2 separate regions of the Homo sapiens genome follow, and region 2 is linked to region 1. The links are contacts of gene promoters, found by promoter capture Hi-C in blood cells and fetal thymus (Javierre and others, 2016). All regions are on one chromosome and are shown on one strand. Each heading gives the region's core, a stretch centred on a gene start or on the middle of the fragment in contact. The rest is flanking DNA. Distances are from core to core; before and after follow the strand shown.

The links. Contacts are between HindIII fragments. The CHiCAGO score rates a contact against its expected background, and 5 or more counts as called.
Region 2: a contact is called between the fragment with the promoter of MICU2 here and the fragment with the promoter of SUGT1 in region 1, in 4 of 17 cell types (total CD8 T cells, total CD4 T cells, non-activated CD4 T cells and 1 more). The highest score is 17.8, in total CD8 T cells.

The regions. Positions count from the first base shown.
Region 1 is chr13:52,649,238-52,656,257 of GRCh38, forward strand. It overlaps SUGT1 (SGT1 assembly cochaperone of MIS12 kinetochore complex), which reads left to right and starts at 3,599. Exons shown (of 13, transcript NM_006704.5): 1 at 3,599-3,721; 2 at 3,809-3,866. The coding sequence starts at 3,684. It overlaps SUGT1-DT (SUGT1 divergent transcript), which reads right to left and starts at 3,070. Exons shown (of 1, transcript NR_170300.1): 1 at 2,068-3,070. RefSeq lists enhancers at 2,900-3,239, 3,349-3,850, 3,960-4,079 and a silencer at 3,330-3,599. The HindIII fragment of the contact is 4,517 bases long and covers 1,131-5,647 here.
Region 2 is chr13:21,599,606-21,606,625 of GRCh38, forward strand. MICU2 (mitochondrial calcium uptake 2) reads right to left here and starts at 4,565. Exons shown (of 12, transcript NM_152726.3): 1 at 4,334-4,565. The coding sequence starts at 4,543. RefSeq lists enhancers at 3,659-4,278, 4,279-4,897, 4,679-4,748 and a silencer at 4,299-4,508. The HindIII fragment of the contact is 1,411 bases long and covers 3,895-5,305 here.

The sequences.
Region 1 (7,020 bases), core at 2,349-4,848:
TTACTAAAAGACATACGAATAACTGAATGAAACAAGCAATTATGTTCATGGACTGGAAGAGGCAATACAAGGGAAATATATCATTTCTCCTCAAACGAATCTGCAAAATCAAAGTGAACAATTTGTTGTTGTTGTTGAGACTCACACTGTTACGTAGGCTGGAGTGCAGTAACACGATAAGAGTCTCAACCTCCTGGGCTCAAGCGATCCTCCTGCCTCAGCCTCCCAAGTAGCTGAGGCACGCGCCACCATGCTTGGCTAATGTTTTTTATTTATTTATTTTTTGTAGAGACGAGGTCTCACCATCTTGCCCAGGCTGGTCTTGAACTCCTGGGCTCAAGTGATTTTTCTGCCTTGGCTTCCCAAAGTGTTGGGATTACAGGCGTGAGCCACTGCACCCAGCCTGCACAAATCTTGTGCATAACTTGATAAAATTTTATGTTTGAATACACTGCTGTGATTACCAGCCAGATCAAGATATGTAACATTTCCCGCATCCGAGATTTCTTCATGCTCCTGTTCCCCACCCTCCCTGACAACCAGGAGGTTCCCTTATGATACCTCTCATCTAAGTGGAATCAATCATGATGTACTCCGTCTGGCTTTTTTTTTTTTTTACCACAACTTATGTATATAAGCTTCATCCATATCGTTGTGTGTAGTAGTCGTTCATTCCTATTGCTATGTAATATTTTTTTCTCCTATTTAAGGACATTTAGATTATTTCCAGTTTTTGCTACCTTGGGTAATGCTGCAATGAATATTCTTCTACATGATCATAAATAATAAATACTCTTGGGTATATGCCCAGTGGTAGAATTATTGGGTTATGGTCTGTGTATAACTAGCTTTAGTAGATAGTGTCTGATATAGTTTGGATATGTGTCCCCACCCAAATCACATGTCAAATTGCAATCCCCAATGTCGGAGGTGGGGCCTGGTGGGAGGTAACTGGATCATAGGGGTGGGTTTCTCATGAATGGTTAAGTACCACCTCTCTTGGTACTGTCCTTGCAACAGTGAATTCTTGTGAGATCTGGTTGTTTAAAAATGTGTAGCACCTACCCCCACCCTACTTGCTCCTGCCATGTAAGATGGCTGCTCTACCTTTGCCTTGTGCGGTGATTGGAAGCTTCCTGAGGCCTCTGCAAAAGTAGAAACTGCTATGCTTCTCGTACAGTCTGCAAAACCATGAGTGAATTAAACATTTTTTCTTTATAAATTACCTAGTCTCATTTATAGCAATGCAAGAACAGACATACGGTACCACAGTTTTCCAAAATGATTAAACTCTCACCAACAATATATGAAAGATACAGTTGCTACATATCCTTGTCAGTGCTTGGTATTGGAAGTCCTTTTAATTTAAGCCATTCTGGTGGTAGTTTTGGTATCTCATTGATTTCAATGTCCATAATATATAGAACTTCTTTTCATGTTGGGCCCATAGGGCGGTCTTGGAATTCACCCTTTCAGAGGCCATACATATATGTGTATTGGTGCATGGCAGAGGCTGGTGTACACACATTAGTGTATGGCTGAGCCATAACCGGAGCATACCTGAGACTAACCCTATGGTCTAAGAAGAACTTACGTTTGGAGTCCTGGGCTAAGGAATCCAGGAGCAGCCAACCCAGAGATTCACTCCTTATCTATGAAGGACATCCACATCCCTGGCCCGTATCTTACGCTGTACAGATCAAGGCCCTTTGGGGTTAAATGGAGGTTGCTAGAAGGAGAGTGCTAAGTGAAAATGCTATATAGACTACGTGCTTTTTACAAATGGTAGCAGTTCTCCAGGTCAGCCCTCCACCACCGGACCACCCTTGTATGTAAATCCTGAATAAACCTTGTCTCCTTCACTGACTCTGCCTCTCTTCTTACAGTGCCATCCCAACTGGAGTCAGTGGGGTCCAGAAGGACAATTGGCCATTTAGATAACATTTGAAAACTAACCAAGGTAATTCACAGTAACATTAAAAAATACAAATGAACATTTCAATAAAGGCAGAAAAAGCAGTTGATATTCAATGCTTTCCTCCTGATGTTATGACCAAGACAAGGAAGTCCATTATCACTGTTTTTATTCAATAGTGGAAACACTAGCCAGCAACAAAAGGCAAAAATAAATAAAAATAAAAGGTATAAAGGTTACAGAGAAGTTAAACCATCTTTATTCGTGGATTGCAAGATTTTGATCACAGAAATTCCGAAAGAATCTACAGAGTATTACAAATAACAAGGGAACTTAGCAAGATGCTTGCATATAAGGTCAGTATGTTAAAATCAATATTGTTTATTCTTACGAGTAGAATATAAAAAAGTCAAAATGCCATTTAACATTGTATACAAAACACTAAATACTCAAGAATAAATCTAATGAAAGATATATATGATCTCTATACTGCAATCTATCCAAGCACAGCTGCATTAAAATATAGATATATGTGCAATCTACAAAATATTGCCAGGAGAAATTAAAGACCGCTTAAATAAATGGTGGGGGAAGAATGATATTCATGGATTGAAGGACTTGTTGTTAAGATACTAGTTTTCCCAAACAGATCTATAGATTCAATGCGAGCCCAATAAAAAATCCCCCCCCTTTTTAACAAGCTAATTCCAAAATTCACCTAGAAATACAAAGGCCGTAGAATAAGCCAAAACAATCTTGGGAGAATAAGTTACAGGACTTAAAGATTTATTATAAAACTACATTAAATTAACATAGTTTGGTACTGGTATAAAGTTAGACAAAGACTACTCCCTCCCGCTCCTCAATCTGCCCCCATCCCTAGAACGTGCTGGCAGCTTTCTCCATCCGATCTGCAAGGGTTAAAGGGCGCTGAGGAAGGGCTGACCGACTGGGGTGGGAAACAAAGCGGCACTGAGATAACTTCAGGCCACCTTCCTCCCCTCAGTACCTTCGGATGAAAGGTTTCCCTTCTTGGTCTGGGAAGCCCACTAAGAAGAAAGCCTGGGCTGTGGCGTTCTGGGGAAGTGAATAGTACGGCCGCCGGGCGCGTCGCCCCAGGAACCAGAAGGCTTTTTGCCGCTATTAGTGCAGAATGACTTCCGGCAAGTCCCAGTCGTTTAGAATCCCCAGCCCAAAGATCGCGGGGATCCACGCGTCATCCGGGCCTCTGCTCCCGGAAGAGACCACGCAGCCGCTAAAGACGTAATGGAGGCGAAAGGGCTTGGCTAGCTGTGGCAGCCATGATAAAAACTAGGGAAAATGGGAGCTCGAAGTAGCTTCCGTTATTAACAGACATACAAACGCCCCTAACCGCCACACGTTCCTTAGGGATGACAGTACGTTACAAAAGTGCTTCTAAAGTACTACTGAAAGCTCCGTGGGAGTGCCCGCTGGCGTGGGCGCGGTGGAAGGGAGGAAGAACGTGTACGCCCCAGGCCTCCGTAACCATGGCTGCGAGGGGCGGGGACTGGGAGCGCGGGTCCTGGGCCGGGGTGCGGCTGGGAGGAATCGGTCCTCCACTGTCCCAGCCGGCCCCGCGCCGGCGTGTCGCCTCCCGTCCCCCTAGCAGCACGCTGCGTGGCTGCTCGCTGGCTATTTAGGACGGAAGCTCGGTTGGTGTTTCTCCAGAAGTTTCCCCCTTGGGCGGTGGTGGAGGTGGTAACCGTGATAGTAGCAGCTCCGGCGGCAGCAACAGCGACTACGAGGGATGGCGGCGGCTGCAGCAGGAACTGCAACATCCCAGAGGTGCATGTTTTTCTTTCCCTTTGGTATTTATTTTATCCCCCTTTCCTTGGCTAGTGAGCCCTGCTGAAGTCGTTGTTTTCCTGACAGGTTTTTCCAGAGCTTCTCGGATGCCCTAATCGACGAGGACCCCCAGGCGGCGTTAGAGGTGAGAGAGCCCATTTCTGCTTCCTCCACTCTTCTTAGGGGAGCTGGGCCACTTCGGGTCCCCGCTGACCCGCCTTCTCCCCGCACCGCCGGACAGGGACCCAGGCTCTTGTTGATGCTGCGTCTCAGCTCCGGTATTGAGATTCTCCGTCTCTTTTCTCTGTTACACGGTAGCCGCGTTACCCCAGACTCCTGTCTTGCCCTTTCCACTCCCTACAGCTCCTGAGAAAAACCTCCTCTATTTCTTGGGAGCATGGTTGGCATTTGTAGTTTGGCTGAAAGGATTTTTTTTTTAATGACATTTATGATTAGAGAAGTGGACTCTGGGCTCGATGAAGTTAATTTTTTCGTTTGACAATAATTCTTGCCATTCTTACGTAAAAGTGTCGGTATGAAGTCAGTCTACTGGAGCAAAACCCTTTTCCCTCACGTCCCTGAAACTTTCCAGATGTCTTATCACAATTCATTATTCACTCATTTGTATATTCATCAAAATTTTTTTTTGGAGTGGCTGTGTGCAAAGGCGCTGATTGCTGTGGGTTAAAGTCTTGGTTATATACTCAGCTAACCTAGAAATCACTTTTTGTAGGTGTGCAATGAAGGCAAACCATAAAGCTGTAAAGGAATGTAAAAGATCAAGAGTTAAATAATAAGAATTAAAGGAGAACCTAAAGATAAATGATGCTGCGGGTCACAGAATTTAGCCAGGAGTTTTTGTTTGTTTTTGCGTTAAATCACAGAAAAGAGGAAACCTGTTTTGCTGTTACGTTTAACAATTTGAGGCAAGACAGCGTCTTTTCTAGCTATGACTTTTATAAGAAATGTGCCACATGGTACTAGAGCCTCCGTTGAGGAGATCTTTGAGTGGAGATTTGAAGGAACAAGGGAATTAACTTGGAAGCTCTGGGGAAAGAATATTCCAGGCAGGACCAAGAGCCAGTGCAGATCTTGAGGTAGGAATGAAGTTGGCCTGTATGTGAAGCAACAAAAAGGCCCTTTTTATTAGAGGGCCCATTTGATTAAGAGAGGTTGGACAGGAAACTAGGAGCCAGGTCCTATAAGGCCTTTTAGGGTCCAGGTGTGTTTTTTACACCTAAATATATAGACCTTTAGATACTGGGAGTAAGGCTTCTGGGATGAGTTTGGGGATAATGTTACAGGAAGCACTGAGAATTTTTCTCCATAATTTCTTGTATTAGCTAGACAGCTATGACTTTTAATTTACATTTGTTATTGTCGTGTTAGACCTAGTGCTTCCTTTGGGAATCCAGTTTATATAAAAGTTGCTTTTAAACAGTATTAACATAATGAATTTTATTGTCACTTTCCATCTTCTTTTACTTTAAAAATTTTTATGGAGGCATATATGATTTATGTAAATAACACAGATTTTAAGTCTATAGTTTGATGAGTTTTCACATGTTTACACCACCAGATTAAGATACAGAGTATCTCCATTCATAATGCTCCTTAATGCGCCTTCTCAGCCAGTAATTCTTCTTACTGTCCTGCTGACTCCTGCTTTGACCTCCATCACCATCAGTTAGTTTTGTTTGTTCTTGACTCATAAACAGAATCATACAGTAGGTGCTTTATTGAATGTAGACACTCTTTTTGCTTTAATGATTACATAAGTATACATTCATATTGTGTGAAGTAGTAGTTCTTTCGCATTGCTGTGTAATATTCCATTGTATAAATATATGTTGTATAGCCGTAAGTACGGCGCAATTTATTCTAACAGTGGACATCTGGGTTATTTCTAGTTATTAGCTAACAAAAAGCTTCTGTGAATACTCTTGTACATGTATTTTGGTGAACACATGCATTTCTTTTGGTTGTATGTACCTAGGAGAAGAATTGCCTAGGATAGTCATGTGGCTAGTATTAGTACCTTGGTTTTTAATGTATGGCTCTTGGACCAGCATTATCAGCATCACCTGGCAATTCATTAGAAGTGCAGCCGGGCGCGGTGGCTCACGCCTATAGTCCCAGCACTCTGGGAGGCCGAGGCAGGCGGATCACGAGGTCAGGAATTCGAGACCAGCCTGGCCAACATGGTGAAACCCCGTCTCTATTAAAAATACAAAAAATTAGCCGGGCATGGTGGTGGGCAGCCGTAATCAGCTACCTGCGAGGCTGAGGCAGGAGAATCACTTGAACCCTGGAGGTGGAGGTTACAGTGAGCTGAGATCGCGCCATTGCACTCCAGCCCAGGCGACAGTGAGGCCAGGCCATCAAAGGCATTAAATCCCAGCACAGGGTTTTCAGTTTTATCATATGATTATGGAGATCCGTCAAGAATTTGGAGGAAGGAAAATGAAATTTTCTGAATTACAAAACCTACTTTAAAAGCAGAGTAGATAGCGAATTGGAGGAGGCACAAGGGATAGTGGATAGCAGGAAGATGGTAGTGCAGACCGGGTCAAAGATGAATATTTGCATGTAGGGCAGTGATTGAGGGCATGGAGGTGAGTTGTTTTATGTAAAATGCACCGGACTTGGTGACGATTAGAATATAAGGGATGTCTCCTGAGTTTCTGGCTGGGGGAATGTTGTAGGAACTGGTGCCATTCATTTAGATAGCACTTAGGATGATAGCACTTAGAAGATTGCCTTCAGCATGGGGGAATAGGTTTGAGGATAGAAAGTAGTTTTAGATTGTGAATATTTGTATATGAGTTGCCTCTGGGACATTTCAGGTAAAGTTTAGAGAAAACTATATGCTGATGTTGCCCAGGACCACTGTCTAGGCTCAAGATAGACTTGAGTCATCAGCATGCATCAACACATATGTGAAGCCCCCCAGTAGTTAAGGAATCAAAGAATGTTTGTAGAGGGGAAGAAGTCTTAAGTACTGAGCCCAAGGAGAACATTAGTTTTTAAGAGGCAGCAGAATGGTAAGCTGAAAGGCCTGGTTATTATTGTCAAGGGCCACAGAGAGATCAAGTCAGATAGGAATCAGTTGGATTTTATAAGGGGTTATTAGTGACTTTGAGAAGATTAAGACTAGAGAGGCAAATATTTTTGTATTCTATGGCAAAGGAGATGCAGTCAAAGTAGAGACTGGGGAAAAGGCTGAAAAAAGTCTGCAAGAAGAAAAATCAATACTTTTCATTGAGTGATTACTGGATGTCACATACAGATCTAGGCAA
Region 2 (7,020 bases), core at 3,315-5,814, about 31 Mb before region 1:
ACTTGCAATTCAGAGTCTTTACGAATTTATCTTTTAAATGTCTTTTGAATTCATCCACTAATTTAGCTATCATCAACTCTCTCCTGAATTATTGCAACAGCTCCCTAAATCTAGTTTTCAATTCACTCCCTTTACTAAAGTCCCAATACTCTTTCCAAAGGTCAGAAACAAATTTGTGACATAGTATTACATGGACTTATTTATGCATTAAATAGTATGATATGGTGGCAGGTTTAAAAAGTGTTTTCATTTTGAAGAAGTGATACTCTGAGATACTTACAACAACTCTAATATAGTACGAAAATATCTGAGATTTCTGTTGATGACAAAGGCAGTTACTGTAATACCACTATAGCTTGTTGCCTACATTCATTAAATGAAGAAAACATTAAACAATTTATGAAAACAATGAAACAAAATTTTTGTCGATGAAATTTTGTCAATGAAAACAAAAATGTAATCTTTTTTCTAAGTTCATGGATCCCCTAAATTCTATGCATGGACATATGGGGGTCCATGAGGGTTAAGAAATCCTGCAATGGCTTCCTGCTGTCCTCAAGATAAAAATTCCTGTCACATGGCTTATGGGACACTTAATGATCTGATTCCCAGCCATTGCTCACACCCAATTTTGAACCCCATCTTTTGCAGCTCTTACTCTGCTGAGTCCAACTCTTACTTCCAGATCTCTGTAAAGCTATCTCCTTTGCCTAGAAAACTCTTCCCCTTCTCTTTGCCTAGCAAACTTGCAGTCACCCTCCAGGTGTCAACCTACACATAATTCCTTCAGGAAACCAAGACTTTGTGAAATACTCTTCCACTATGCTTCCACAGCACCCAGTATTTAACCCTACCACAGCATTTATCACATTGTATTAAAACTGCCGTTCCCCATTAAACTGTAAGCACATAAACTGTGTCTCTAATCCCTGCTCCTGGCATATTGTCTAGCACAGAGTAAGATTTCAAAACTTGTGAAAGGAAGAAAGTAAAGAAAAAAGGAAGGTTCCAATTTATCTACTGTTTCATGACATGAAACTCTACCCTTAATTCCCGACTGACCCTCACAAATGCAAGCTGTTGGTCACAATGGGAACTAGAAAAGTGTAGGACTCCATTAATATAAATTTATATTTTTATTGGAAAAAAGCACTTAGTGTAATGACTGAAAATGAAGGACATATTCACTATTATTATTATTATTATTTTGAGACGGAGTCTTGCTCTGTCGCCCAGGCTGGACTGCAGTGGCAGGATCTCGGCTCCCTGCAAGCTCCGCCTCCCAGATTCACGCCATTCTCCTGCCTCAGGCCCCCGAGTGGCTGGGACTACAGGCGCCCGCCACCACGCCCAGCTAATTTTTTGTATTTTTAGTAGAGACGGGGTTTCACTGTGTTAGCCAGGATGGTCTCGATCTCCTGACCTCGTGATCCGCCCATCTCGGCCTCCCAAAGTGCTGGGATTACAGGCGTGAGCCACCAGGCCCGGCCGGACATATTCACTATTATTATAGGGCCGCGTCAGGAAGAGTTTACCAACTTGGAATACCAATGTAACTATATTAATGCATAAAATTCTATTGCAATGAAAGATTCATCACAAGCCAAAATTCTGGTATATATCTAGCTCAACTATGCACACCTGTCCCTAAAGTAGTGGTAGTAGGCCCACTTCTTAGGGAAATGTATCAAAATCACTGAGGCGAAGGCAAAGTTTTCAACCTATAGGTCCTCTCAATCCTTCCTGTATTCAGCCACTGATGCTGAAAGGAATGTCCACCGTGGTGGCAAAAGGATGAGAACCACTGTCTCGGTCCAATAGCAGATCAGGCAAATGCTATGCCAACAGACCTTATAAAACGATTGATAATAAAATGGTTTCTGTATTACTTTAGCTAAGATTAAACTTACAAAGCTGCAGGGAAGGAGAGCTGAGAGTTGGGAAGAGAATCCAAAATAACTACACTAGTGTGAAGCTTTTAGAATCAAGTCAGGGATTTCAAAGGAGAAAGATTAGAAGTGGGCCAGAAAAAAAAAAAACAATTAGATGGATAAGTGAAATCAAGAGTCTACAAATTGCAGCTGGCGGGTGAGCGGTATTTAAGTCTTGTTCTAGGGATAGTGAGTGAATCACTTTAGTGGGAAGGTGCCTGAGTAGTGTCAGGTCAGAGTGTGACTATAAAAGGCTCTGAAAGACAAAGTTTTAAAATGTGCATTTTGGCCGGGCGCTGTGGCTCACGCCAGTAATCCCAGCACTCTGGGAGGCCAAGGCAGGCGGATCACGAGGTCAGGAGATCGAGACCATCCTGGCCAACATGGTGAAACCCCGGCTCTACTAACAATACAAAAAAAAATTAGCTGGACGTGGTGGCGTATGCCTGTAATCCTAGCTACTTGGGAGGCTGAGGTAGGAGAATTACTTGAACCGGGGAGTTAAGAGGTTGTAGTGAGCCGGGATCACGCCACTGCACTCCAGCCTGGGTGACAGAGACTCCATCTCAACAACAAAAAAAAAGTGCATTTTACTCTTGGCAAAATGAGACACTGAAGAAGGGTTTCTGAAGAAGGGTACACTGTGTGGTTAAAGTGATACTCCGGAGAAGATTAACCTAAGGGTCTTAAAAACAGGATGAATCGGCCGGGCGCAGTGGCTCACGCCTGTAATTCCAGCACTTAGGGAGGCCAAGGCGGGCGGATCACGAGGTCAGGAGATCGAGACCATCCTGGCTAATACGGTGAAACCCCGTCTCTACTAAAAACACAAAAAATTAGCCGGGCGCGATGGCGGGCGCCTGTAGTCCCAGCTACTCGGGAGGCTGAGGCAGGAGAATGGCGTGAACCCGGGAGGCGGAGCTTGCAGTAAGCCGAGATAGCGCCACTGCAGTCCGGCCTGGGCGACAGAGCGAGACTCCTCTCAAAAAAAACAAAAACAAAAACAAAAAACAAACAAAAAAACCAGGATGAATCTAGGGGAGAGAAACTAATGATGAATACACTGAACTCCTTGGCACAAGATTCACAAAAATGCTATAAAAACACTAGATAATAGATCTTTCCATTATATATGTTTACAATATAATTATAATGTATGTTAATACAAATAAGGAATATCAGTTGCCAATACTTAATTTTAACTCACAAGGCCTTCTTTCCTCTCTTTTTTGTTGTATCTGAATGTTCCTTGAGTTTTTCGCTAGAAAGGCATAATGTAAATCTAAAAAAGAAAATAATAAACTACTACTTTCAATTTTCAAAAAAGCTCATATGTAAAAACTTACTAAGTCTACAAAAATTTTAAAGCACTACTCATTCAAATTTTCAAATGCGTTACAACATCATTTATCCTGAAATAGGGAACTTGAATCTTTTTTTTTTTTTTTTGAGACGGAGTTTCGCTCTTGTAGCTCAGGCTGGAGTGCAATGGCTCGATCTTGGCTCACTGCAACCTCCGCCTCCCGGATTCAAGCGGTTCTCCTACTTCAGCCTCCCGCCACCACACCCAGCTAATTGTTTATATTTTTTAGTAGAGACCGGGGGGGCGGGGCTGGGGTGGGGAGCGGCTTCACCATGTTGGCCAGGCTGGTCTCGAACTCCTGACCTCAGGAGATCCACCCGCCTCGGCCTCCCAAAGCCCTGGGATTAAAGGCGTGTGCCACCGCGCCCGGCGGACTCTTGTCTTTAATAGATGGAGGTTTTAGGAGCAATTTTTGCTTAGAACTTATGGTCCACTAAGATATTAAGGTTTATAATCATGCAATAATGTTCCTTAAAGTTGATAATAAAATCTGGAAATCAACTGGTTAATTTTTGTGGCTGACACATTCGTGACTTAAAAAAGCAATCGACAGAACTTCATCATGCTATACAAAGAAAAGATCGTAAAACTTAGTTGCAAAGCTTAACAAAGGTATATCCCACAGGGGTAACTGGACGCAAACCACCTGCGGATGTGAATGCCACTTCACTGACCAGAGAGGTAGCAAGAGGCGAGGCGCAGTGAGATTCTGAATTAGGAGCCTCGAATTAAGACACGCCCACACTCATCACCACTAAATTAGTGCGGCCAGTTTTGTGGGCCGTGGTGTTCAGCGTCCGCGGGGTTCTCCCAAGGGAGGCAGAATCTCCGGTCACCAGCCTCGAAGGCCCTCGGGGACTCAGGCCGGGGGCCGGTCCAGGAAGGAGCGAGTCCCACCAGTCGCAGGGCGCTCCGATCCGCAGCGGCACCTCCACCCACGGCTCCGGGAGAGCCGCCCAGAGCCAAACCACTCCCCGCCTAAGGGCGTCAGGGGAGGGAGGAGCTTGACTGGGGCTAGCAGAAGGAGTTAGTCCTGTACCTGTGCGGAGACTGTAAAACTGCCATCCCGCGCCGCAACACTGACGCGGCTGTGGTGCCAGGCCGCTCCTGCTCCTGCCAGGGCCGCGCCGGCCACTGCCGCTGCCAAGGGGCCGGGACTCCGCACAGCCTGTCGGCTGACAGCGAGCCCCCGTCGCAGTTTTCCGCCCCAGGCCGCCACCCGCGCGCAGCTACCCGCAGCCGCCGCCATCTTTGCGGAAGCGCAGCTAGGCGGCGCTTCTCTCCCGGCGCCGCCGCCTACCGCTTGGGAACTCTCGCGACATCCGACAGGCTTCCGCCCCGCCTACCGGGCCTGCGCCGTGGGTGCGGTTGCTGAGGCGACGCTCGCAGCCGCAAGAGGTGGCCTTCGGTTCCGGGGCTGCCTTCTAAGGCTGTGGGGATGGGATGACAGGAAGAGTATCAAGACAGTATAATATGACTTCCTAGTCCAAAACAAGATAGTGCCCTCGGTTGTGTGGGCAGGTTTCTCCTTTTCATTTTTTCACCTTGTAAAACTGTGAAACGTTTTTTGAAATAGTCTCTTCTGCATCTGTGTTGTTCATGTCTTCCTATGCTTATAGTCTTGACTGTTCTTTCATTTCTGCTAAAACAACTCTCAGACAAGGCATTCTGTTTATTTCAGTCCCTCACTATTTGCTTATAATGAATTTAAATTCAGTTTCAACAAAAGGTTTGATAGTAGCTCTTATCCTACCTAGAACTAAAAGTCAGAGACAGCAGCACACCAGCCCCATGTCTCTATCATCAGGGACCCAGAGGTTTTCCCCAGTGCAGATTTAGAACGATACCTCCAGTCCTGGCTGTTGCATTGGTGATAAGTGATGTAGCTGAGGCAGACTACTTGGTTTTATTTAACAGCCTCCAATCCTCCATTCTTTGGTCTTCACTTTTCCTGAGTAACTCTTTTTAATAAACTCTTTGTTCAGCCTCTGAAATGTCCCCAGCTATTAGAAGCTTTAGTTGGGCATGCAGTAACGGAGCCAACATCAAAGGGGCCAAGACTCCTAATCACATAATCACTGCTGTCTTGAAGTTTTGCACAAAACAAAACTTCAAGAAACAAAAACAAAAACCTGTCACACGAAATCTAATTTGATCATTCAGTGGAAGTTCCGTGGATCCCTTTGTTATTATCTGCCCTTAATCCTTGCTCCCTTTCTCTTAGCCCGCTTGTCTAAATTAATCTGCAGTCAGAGGTTCCTCACTTTTCCGTCAGCTTCTGGACTTACTTTTCAGTGTGCCTTCCCAGGTAGGAAGTAGAGAGATGAGCCTCACTTCACCGACTTGTGAGCCAGACCTCAAGGTTTGAATCTTAGCTCTACCAGGATGATCACTGTGGTTTGGGGCAAATTATTTAATCTCTCTGAGTCTCCATTTTCTCATTTGTAAATAACTCACGATTTGGTAGATGATCACTGCTATTTGGGGTAAGGTATTTAATCTCTTTGAGTCTCAATTTTTTCATCTGTGAACAACCCTCTTACAGTTTGGGGTGGGGAAGCTAAATGAGATATTTTATATAAAGTGACTAGCCAAATGCCTGGCACATGGTAGGCTCATGACAGATGTGCGTTTACTGTGGTCAAGGTTTGGTTTACTTCTGCCCTGTGAACACAAATGAGCTTGACTGAATGTCCATGATTCCAGATCACTAGCCCATCTTAACCTGAGATTTTCCTGCTTTTTTGTATCTAGCCTGACTTTGTCAACCTCTGGACTGTTTTTCACCTCTGCTAACTCTGGTAGCTTTGGCACATGTCCTGCTTTTCTGGACTATTGACATCTAGCTTGTTTCCTGGTGATAATAGGACTTCCAGGATATTTTGGACACCCTGGATGTCTTACCTTGTAGTTTATTCTTGATTTCCAGAAACCACAGTCTTTACGTGTATACTTCTAACTGCCTCACACAGTTCCTCTAGGTATTTAATGAAACCTGGCATCTATTACTCAGTATTGCCTTAAGCCCAAGATAAGTTTAGATTCCCATTAAAACATGTAGCATATTTAAGAACATTGTCTTTCTCCCACAATTTGACATCCTTGTGGGTGAGATGTCTTCCTTTTCCCTGTTTCTCTAGCACCTAGCACAATGCCCAGCACGTAATAGACATTCAATGAGTGAGTAAATAAGTGAATAAATAAATGGCACAAATGAAACTCAGGGGTTCATATTTCTATGCTTTGGCCATCCAAAATACAGAAGTATATTATTCCTTTGGGGTACTTTATTTTCAAAACAAAAGCTTCTTTTTATTTTGCCAAAAATCTTTGAACCCACTTGGAAAACAGTGTAATTAGTTATTTTTTAAATTTTCATTATGTGCCCAGGCATCTAGAACTCTCACTTATAATTTAATGTATTCAAACTTTTCTTATGCAGAGGAAACAAATTCTTATAATAGAACCAATCTCTAGTCGAATAACCATTCTAAGTATGAAATCTTCCTTGGCAGCTGCTGACATTTGTCTAAGCACATTGACTATATTGGTCTTTTTGGGCTCCAGCTTTGTTCATTTCTTCATCATCAGCTGTAAAGTCCTGGGCTGGGATGTATTTTCAACCATGCAGTTTATAAACCAACCCCCAAATAAGAAGCTGCTTCTAAAGCTGTACATTGTATGCTGTTTTAAATAACTGGACGAAAACAGGATGGAAATACTTAT